2 separate regions of the Homo sapiens genome follow, and region 1 is linked to region 2. Evidence: promoter capture Hi-C in 16 types of primary human blood cells and fetal thymus (Javierre and others, 2016). All regions are on one chromosome and are shown on one strand. The core of a region is centred on a gene start or on the middle of the fragment in contact, and the rest is flanking DNA. Distances in the headings are between cores, read along the strand shown. Region 1 overlaps DNAJC1 (DnaJ heat shock protein family (Hsp40) member C1). Region 2 holds the start of SPAG6 (sperm associated antigen 6).

Evidence for each region. The method cuts DNA at HindIII sites, captures the fragments that hold promoters and counts their contacts. A CHiCAGO score of 5 or more calls a contact.
Region 1: a contact is called between a fragment that was not itself captured here and the fragment with the promoter of SPAG6 in region 2, in 1 of 17 cell types (erythroblasts). The highest score is 5.5, in erythroblasts.

Annotation. Positions count from the first base shown.
Region 1 is chr10:21,979,334-21,983,969 of GRCh38, forward strand. All of the region lies in intron 1 of DNAJC1 (DnaJ heat shock protein family (Hsp40) member C1), which reads right to left. Among named protein-coding and RNA genes, the nearest start is that of DNAJC1, 22 kb to the right of the region's middle. The HindIII fragment of the contact is 2,258 bases long and covers 532-2,789 here.
Region 2 is chr10:22,343,709-22,348,074 of GRCh38, forward strand. SPAG6 (sperm associated antigen 6) reads left to right here and starts at 1,788. Exons shown (of 11, transcript NM_012443.4): 1 at 1,788-1,928; 2 at 2,015-2,110. The coding sequence starts at 1,904. RefSeq lists enhancers at 1,637-1,856, 1,817-2,633. The HindIII fragment of the contact is 2,343 bases long and covers 1-2,278 here.

The sequences.
Region 1 (4,636 bases), core at 411-2,910, 360 kb before region 2:
ATCATATGTATTTTTATTCAACTGATCTAAAGAATCTATATCCCAAATAAGGAAGCATGAGAACAAGGGTTTAAAGGATTTTAAGAACTATGATGCCAGGTTAAAATGCTAGAGGAGATTTAATTGATTTTTTAAAGTATTATTATTTTCATGAGTGCTTATAAGGTTCCACAGATTTTGAACGCTGTACCTCAACCCTATTTTTCCCATAGGTACTGTTATTTTTAGGGTGTGACTTTGCAGAATATGAAGCCATATATGGTTTTACAGTGGGAATACATGTACTTGGATCTGGTCTACCTGGATAAAGTAAGAAATAATGGAAAGTAAACTAAAGACAGAATACCTGTAAAGGAGATATCCTTATTTATAATTTTTCTTTTTTTTTTTTTCACCATGGCTTTACCTTCTGCAAGTCAATCCGGCTAAGGTACAATGGATAAAACGATTATCAAGCTTCTCTTTCTTACCTACCCACAGCAAACTTTGTTCCAGGCCTTTGACACCTTCATTGTTTTTGATAATAATCAAAGCTTTCTGCTCCTATGACTTTTGCAGTCATATGTCAAAACTGCATATGTCTGCTCCTATGACTTTTGCAGTCAAAAGTCCTATGACTTTTGCATTCTGCTTATTATGAATCCTGTTCAGAGTTTATTTTTGTCTTGTTCCCCAGCTTATTTTTCCAGAATCAAAACATTAACAGAGTTGCGGGGCTGGAAAGTCCTTAGGTTATCTAGTCTAACTTTACACTATTCTATATTATTAGCTACAAATATCTACTGACCACAGGGCTAAACAAGTGCTAGAAATGGCAGTGAACAAAAACAGGCACAAAATCCAGATATTGAACAAACTATATACACATATACACACATATATTTCCTAGTTCTGTCCATTAAGAAGTAATTTCCTACAAAGAAATTAACAAAGAGAAAATAGTAATTTTACGGTGGAGAAACCTGGCAGACACTTAACCAAATGATCAAAGTTAACATCATCTGTGATGAGATATATGGATATCATGTGCCTCCTGATACAATACACTGAAAAGGGCACACCACTTCCATAGTATTTATAACAAACATGCATAGTTTGAATTTAATCATGAGGAAATATTAGACAAACCCAAACTGTGGGACACTTTAAAATATAACTGTCCAATATTCTCCAAAAGTGTCAAGGTCAAGAAAGACTGAGGAACTGTCCCAGAGTGGACATAAATGAGATAAAACAACTAAATGTGTGATTCTGCACCAGGAAAAGGATGTTAATGGGACAGCTGGAAAATCTGAATAACATCTGTAGATAACACTGTAACAGTGTTAATGTCCTGGTTTTTATCAATTTATTAAGGTTACATCTGAGAAAGCCAGGTGAAAGGTATATGAGAACTGTATTATTTTTGCCACCTTTTGTTAAGCCTAAAATTATTTCAAAATGAAAAATTATACATAAAAAGTTTTAAAATATATTTCTTAAGTCTAATATTTGAAGTCAGTGATCACATATTTCCTTAGCCTTTCCTTTTCAGACTAAATGTGTTCTTCTTTTTGGGCAAGATTCCCAGAAACCCTACTGTATTTGTAGCTCCCCTTAAAAAAAAATTCAGTTTGTTAATATTCCTCCTTAAGTGTGGTACCAGGAGTGTTTATAATACATTGATGGAGATTGCATTAAATTTCTCATTTTCTGTGATCAAGTCACTCTCTGTTTCTATGTTTATTAATGCAAATTAGAGTTGAATTTTAAAAGCAGATGCATAATGCTGTTGGCCTAATTCAGCATGTAAACAACTAAAACCTGAGTGTTCATCTTTACTGAAGTCAAACCAGATCTCCCCGTTTTATATTTGTGCAAATGATTTTCTCAAGCAAAATGTAGAATTACATTTTTCCCTGATTACTTCCATCCTTTCAACTCATAGTTTACGATGGTATGGAGACCAGTTAGATTATTCTGAATGATAATTCTATCATTTACTCACTTGGCATGTATTCAGCACATACCATTTGCGGTGTACTATAAATTAAGAATCTATTAAAAATTTGCCATGGAATTGAGAGCAGTCATATCTGATTGGAAGAGCAAGCAATGGAGAAAATCTTTAATAATGGGATTAAATTTGGGCTGGGCCTTTAAGAATAGGTAACATTTAAATAGTAAGAAACAATTACAAAATAACAGTTATGATCTTTGAGCCTAACAGATAAGCTCCACAAGTTGTTAGTTTTCTGAGACTGGGCAAGTCTCTGAAATTCAATTTCCTCATTTGTAAAATGGGGAAAAAATGCCTTACTAAGTAGGGCTGTTTTAAAGATTACATGAGATAATATGTGTATTCAAAAACAGCCTTTTCAGCAGACGGTGCCAGGAAAACTGGATATCTGCATGCAAAAGAATAAAATTGAACCCTTACCTTTAACAAAGACTGTCTCCTTGACTAAACTCTAGTCAGGCTCCTCTAAACCATCTTCACAGCTAGGCCTCAACCTTTGAACTTCTATCTCCTCCTTTGCATCGTCCAATTTTAGCAAGAATTCTGCTAAGAGAGTTAAGCCAGAAACCCTACCATTGATATCCGATCACCCTCAATATATCTGACCAAATTCCTCATTCCCCACCAACCCCCAGGCGATACCTGATTACCTTGGCCTGCCTTTGGCAAAAACCTTGTCAAATTGGTTTCACCAGAGACCCCCTTAACTCTGATGTTTCCTCTAATCTTCCATCCACTGACCCTGTTCCTTGGCTATAAATCTCCACTTTCCATGTTGTATTCAGAATTAAGCTTCATTCTGTAACGAAGTCTCTTTTCTCCTACTGCAACTGTTCCTGATTAAAATTTGCTTTTACTGCTTTAACTACTGTCAGGCTCTACTTTTCTTTGACGCCTCACATCATATATATAAATTGACTTAAAAATAGATCAAGGACTAACATAGGAGTTAAAACTATACAACTCTTAGAAGAAAATATATGGGAAAAAACTTCATGATATTAGATTTGGTGATGATTTTTTGATATGACAGAGGTACAGGCAAAAAAAAGAAAAAAATAATAAATTGGACCTCATCAAAATGAAAACCTTTTGTGCATCAAAGGACACTAGTAAGAGAGTAAATAAACAACCCACAGAATGGGAGAAAATATTTGCTAATTATATATCTGATAGATTAATATCCAGAATATATGAATAACTCCTACAACCAACAACAAAAAAATCCAATTAAAAGTGGACAAAGGACTTCAACAGACATTTCACCAAAGAAGACAAATGACCAATAACCCACATGAAAAGATGCTCAATAACAGTAGTCACTAGGGAAATGCAAATCAAAACCACAACAGTTACTACCTCTCACCTATTAGGATAGCTATCATAAAAAAAAAAAAAAAGTAAAAACTAAGTACTGACGAGGATGTGGAGAAATTAGAACTCTTGTACATTGCTGGTAGGAATGTAAAATGGCACAGCAGCTATGAAAAACAATTTGGTGGTTCCTCAAAAAGTTAAATACTGCCTGGGCAACAAATTGTGACCCTTTCTCTACAAAAATTTTTTTAAAAAATTAGCCAGGCATGATGGCGCACATCTATAATCCCAGCTACTTGGGAGTCTGAGGCAGGAGGACTGCTTGAGCCTGGGAGTTTGGGGCTGCAGCAAGTTATGATCATGCCACTCAACTCCAGCCTGGGCAAGAGAGGAAGACTCTGTCTCAAAAACAAAGGAAGTTAAATATAGAATTACTATATGATCCAGCAATTCTTCCTCTAGGTATATACCTAAAAGAATTGAAAGCAGGGGCTCAAACAGATACTTGTATACCAATGGTCATAGCAGCATTATTCACAATAGCCAAAGCTGAAAACCTAAATGTCCAAAAATAGATAAACGGATAAATAAAAGTGGTATATACACGCAATGGAATATTATTCAGCCTTAAAAAAGAATGAAAATTTGAGATATACTACAACATGAATGAAACCTGAAGACATTATGAAGACAAGTGAAATAAGCCAGACACAAAAGGGCAAATATTATATGACTCCATTTATATCTAGTGCTTATAACAGGCAAATTCAAGAGTAAGCAAGTAGATTAGAGGGGCTGGATGCAGTGGCTCACACCTGTAATACCAGCACTTTGGGAAGCCAAGGCAGGCAGATCACTTGAGGCCAGGAGTTCGAGACCAGCCTGTCAAACGAAGACCTGTCTCCACTAAAAATACAAAAATTAGCCGGGTGTGGTGGCACTCGCCTGTAAATCCCAGCTACTGGGGAGGCTGAGGCACAAGAATGACTTGAACCTGGGAGGCAGAGGCTGCAGTGAGCAGAGATTGCACCACTACATTCCAGCCGGGGCAACAGAGCGAGATTCTGTCTCAAAAAAAAAAAAAAAAAAGGAAAGTAGATGAGAGGTTACCAGGAGCTGGTGGGGAGGAAAGAACGGTAAGTTGTTTAATCGGTGCAGAGTTTCTGTTTGGGATGACGGAAAAGTATTAGAAATGAATAATGAAGATGGTTGCACAATGTTGTGAATGTACTTAGTGTCACTGGTTTTTATACTTTAAAGCAGTTAAAATGGTAAATTTTACATTATGTATATTTTACTACAATAAAAAACAAAAAAGCA
Region 2 (4,366 bases), core at 538-3,037:
AATACAATTTAACTAAAAGATATTGTTAATAACAGATACTCAGACTCTAAAGTAATTTACATAGCTTTTGAACGTATGTTTTCAAAGAACTTAGTAGCATCCCATACTGTGTTATGTTTATAGGTTTAGACCTCTCCCCCTCTATTGAGCTCTTAACACTTTTAAAATGGAAAACAAATAGTAAAGCAGTTGCTAAAAATGGCAGTTGGAGTAGCTTAAGAGTTTGAATTGTTTGTTTAAGGACTGAAACCAAATATAAAAACTTTTAAGGGGATTTTTTTTCATCATTCAACAAGGAACTGAAAATTACAAGGCTTATTTGCAATCTTAATTATTTACTCAATCTGTTTCCTCCCACGTCTCTAAATGGGAACGCATAACTTTAATTTTAAAGGACATATTCCCATAGGGAAATATAGATATCACTGTAAAACTTACGACTTTGAATTAAGTAAAAAGATTGTGGCCATCACTGGCTTTTGAGCTGCAGAAGCAGAAGACATGTACCTGCCCTTCGGGGGTATTAGGGACCCGACTAAACACACTTATTCTTCTCTCTGATTGCTGGACCATTCCCCAACTATTTGGAGCTCCACAAAGTATCAGGACTTCATCAAGAGCTCAGTGAAGGGTGAGATCTCAAAGATAAATATAGAGGACTCATTCCAAATATAGAACCAGTTAAGTTTGCATGCTCCCTTCTGTTGAAGAAATATCAAGGGGTTTCCTGTCTTGGCACTACTTAGCAGCAGCTGCGGCTATGTATCCACTTGACATCTGGTGAAATTGTAGTTTTTGATGGAGGAACATTTAAAGTTGACAACTGTCATTGAAACAACTGGTATATAGTTTTCAAAGACAAGCTAGAAACCAGTAATAGACTAAGTACTTCAATTTTGTTAAAAGAAACTGGGTAAAGGGTTCAAGTTATATAAGATAGGGAAGTCTGGTTTTCCAGGTAAAGGTTCTCTCTCTTTTTCTGTTGGAGATGTCATTCATCAACATAACGAAGCCTAAATTTAAAAGACTAAGACAAAATATTTACAAATCACATAAAAGTGAGGAAACAGCAAAATTAGTAGTCATTAGGAGAAAGCCAGGGAAGACAGGACATTCATCACATCCTTTCCTCATCTGCTTTCCTCACTGAGTCTCTGAGTGCTCATTAAATGCTTTCAATACAGTGTAATTAAGTGTGTGAACATGGTTGTCATGCTCCTCCAGGAATCTTGAAACCAGGAATGCCAGGTATATAACAGCGGGTTACAAAAGAAAACACGGATTCCTAAATCAGTGTTTTACTGTCAGTGCAGTGTTAAATGTCAATGCAACACTTAAGTTGCATTGACATTCATGTGTTGATCGGATTGTACAATGTGACGTGTGAGATTTCTCGGGACCGTCGAAGCTCAGACAACTCCAGGGCTGCAATTTACTCGTCTGGCTGCCCTCGAACCAGGCTCCCTTGGCGCGTGGGGCTCTCCCGGCGCTTGGTCCCGACCCGCGCCGCAGTCAGGATACCACGGCAATCTGGGGTCGCTTTGTAAGGAGCTCCGACCTCCGGGCAGTGCAGGGATACTCGACGGCGCGCGATGTCCCGGCGGCTCCGCGAGCCTGGCGCGCTGAGAGCCCCAGCAGTCCGAGTCCTCGAGCTCGGGCGTCTTCGCGCCGCCGCCCCGCTCAGTGCGCCCAGGCACCGCGGCCGTGACGTCACGCCCGGGACTGGCCGTTGCAGCAAGACGGCCGCGTTCCGGTTCCGGTAGGTTGCCCGGGAGACGCGGGTACACAGAGAAGCGGCTCCCGTCGGAGGCCGAGTCGTCGCCACGATCGCCCCCTTGGTGGACTCGCAGGCCGAGCGGCTTCCCCGCAGAGCTCGAGGAGGGCAGACGGCGGCGGGGGCGCCATGAGTCAGAGGCAGGTGCTGCAAGGTAGGGCCGAGGCGGGCAGGTGCCCTAACTAGCTGGCGCCGAGGAGACCCGGGTGCGGTGGGCTCCACCGACTCTCTCTCCCGCAGTGTTCGAGCAATACCAGAAGGCCAGGACCCAGTTCGTGCAGATGGTGGCGGAGCTGGCGACTAGACCCCAAAACATCGAGACGCTGCAGAACGCGGGTGAGCCCGGAGCCCGAACCCCCGTCGCCCCCCGCGCACTGAGTCCCCGACGCCTCCGCCCCGCTGCCCTGCCCGTGGAGCTCTTGGGGAGCCGCAGTGTGGGGACCGGAGTTCGCAAAAGCATCCATTCTTTTCAGCGGGTCTTTGGGGGTCAGGCCGAGAGGGTGAAGCTTCCAGATGGTTGTGGGAGGTGCGCGTTGTCCCTGTTTCCATCTTCATTGCACACAGGCAAGTGTCAGGTTGAAAGTCGAGGCCCTAGGAATTGCCTGGAGTCATTTTACGTGAATGGGACTCTACCCTAATGAGACCCATTTTATCCAAGTGCCATTTTGCATGCCACCCTGCCTTTGATCACCTTCGACTTCCTCACAGCAAAGCAATTCCAGTGGTTTAGACGTGATTTCTCGTCTTGCTTTAGTGAAAGGGGAATGATATGCTTGAATCTTTTCCAAGAAATTCCAAGTAGGTAGAGACCAGACTTTGCGAAATCCTTATGGCGCGTTCCTTCTACTCCTCAGTCCGGACTCTTGCAGATGTGAGAGGGGGAGAGAGGGGGAGAGGGAGGGAGAGAGATCTTCTTATCTCATAACATAAACTGATAAGAGAAAATGGTTCTTCTTCTTCTTCTTCTTCTTCTTCTTCTTCTTCTTCTTCTTCTTCTTCTTCTTCTTCTTCTTCTTTCTTCTTCTTCTTCCTCTTCTTCTTCTTCTTTTCTTCTTTCTTCTTTCTTCTTCTTTTTTTTTGGATGATTCTACCACCATCTGAACTGTAAGGTAGCATTTTATCACTACTGTGTCATGAGAAATCTTCAGTTTATAGGATGTGATCTTTAAAACTAACACATAATTTAAACAATTAACATGTTGACAGCAAGAATACTTAAGTGTAATGATTACTCTGGGTTTCTTTGAGGGGAATTACTACTGCACCTATGTGATACTTCGTTTTGTCACTAGGATTTTTGGCATTTATTCCTTGTGTGTTTTTATTGGGGGGCATGTATTTACAATAAAGTATATTTTATAATCTTCTAAACGCATTTTAGTTTGAAATAATTGTAGATTCACAACTGTAAGGGATAATACAGAGAGATCCCGTGTACCCTTTTCTCAGTTTCCCCAATGGTAACATTTTTCAAAACTGTAGTGCAATATCACAAGGAGGACATTGACATTGATAAAAATTCGTTGATCTTATATAGGTTTCCTCCTTTTAATTGTTCGTGTGTGTGTGTGTTTTGTCCTATAGAATTTTATTCCGTGCGTATCCACCACCAGCACAGTCAAGATACAGAACACTTTCATTGTCACAAGGATCCTCTCTCTTGCCCTTTTATAGCCACACACACCTCCTGCTATCCCTAACCCTGGACAACCACTAATCTCTTCTCCATTTCTAAAATTTTGTCATTTCAGAATTGATAATCCTTTGTTCTATAGTTGTTTTATATGGGTTGATTTTCTGTATTCTGTGTGTGTGTATGCACCCGTACTCCTCCAAGTACCCAGAACAATACTGGGCACACAGTATTTCATATACACAGACTAACACAGACTAAGGTATTAGAACATGTTACATTTTAGAAGTGTATTTAAAAGTAATTTTAAAGTGTAAACTTTTAAAGTTTTTTCTCTCAGTCCCTCTCAATGACCTTTGTGAATGGACATTTACTACTTAACAAAGATTTAGTTTCTGGACAATATGAATATAGCCAAACTAAAACTTTTAAAATGGGAAAATAATTGATATTATTTTCAAATTTTAATACTGAGATGTTAAAGTATACATAACTTTTAAGATACGGAGTATCATGTTTTAGTGAGTAGTGGCAGGTTAGCTCCTCCCATAAGAGTGCAATGTAGACTTCACAATGGAACTTAATCCAAATTGACTGTATAAGTGGCTTAGATATAAGATTCTACACTTATGGTCTGGCTTAGGAAAGATGAATACGAAAGGAATATAACTTTATGTTTTGAAATTCTCTGCACTTGACTAATATCTGGGTAGCATGCTAAAATGTTTCTTTTCCTGAGGGACTTATTTTTAACAAATTTCATGTTATCGAGATTCAATTCAAGCATTCCTTTAGCAATTTTAAATACAGACATAATGAATATTCAATGTATTTATTCTTTTGATTAAAAAAGAACCTGTAAACTTTGTTATGAAAACTTTTCTTTCTTTCTTTGAGACAGAGTCTTGCTCTGTTGCCAGGCTAGAGTGCAGTGGCATGATCTCGGCTCACTACAACCT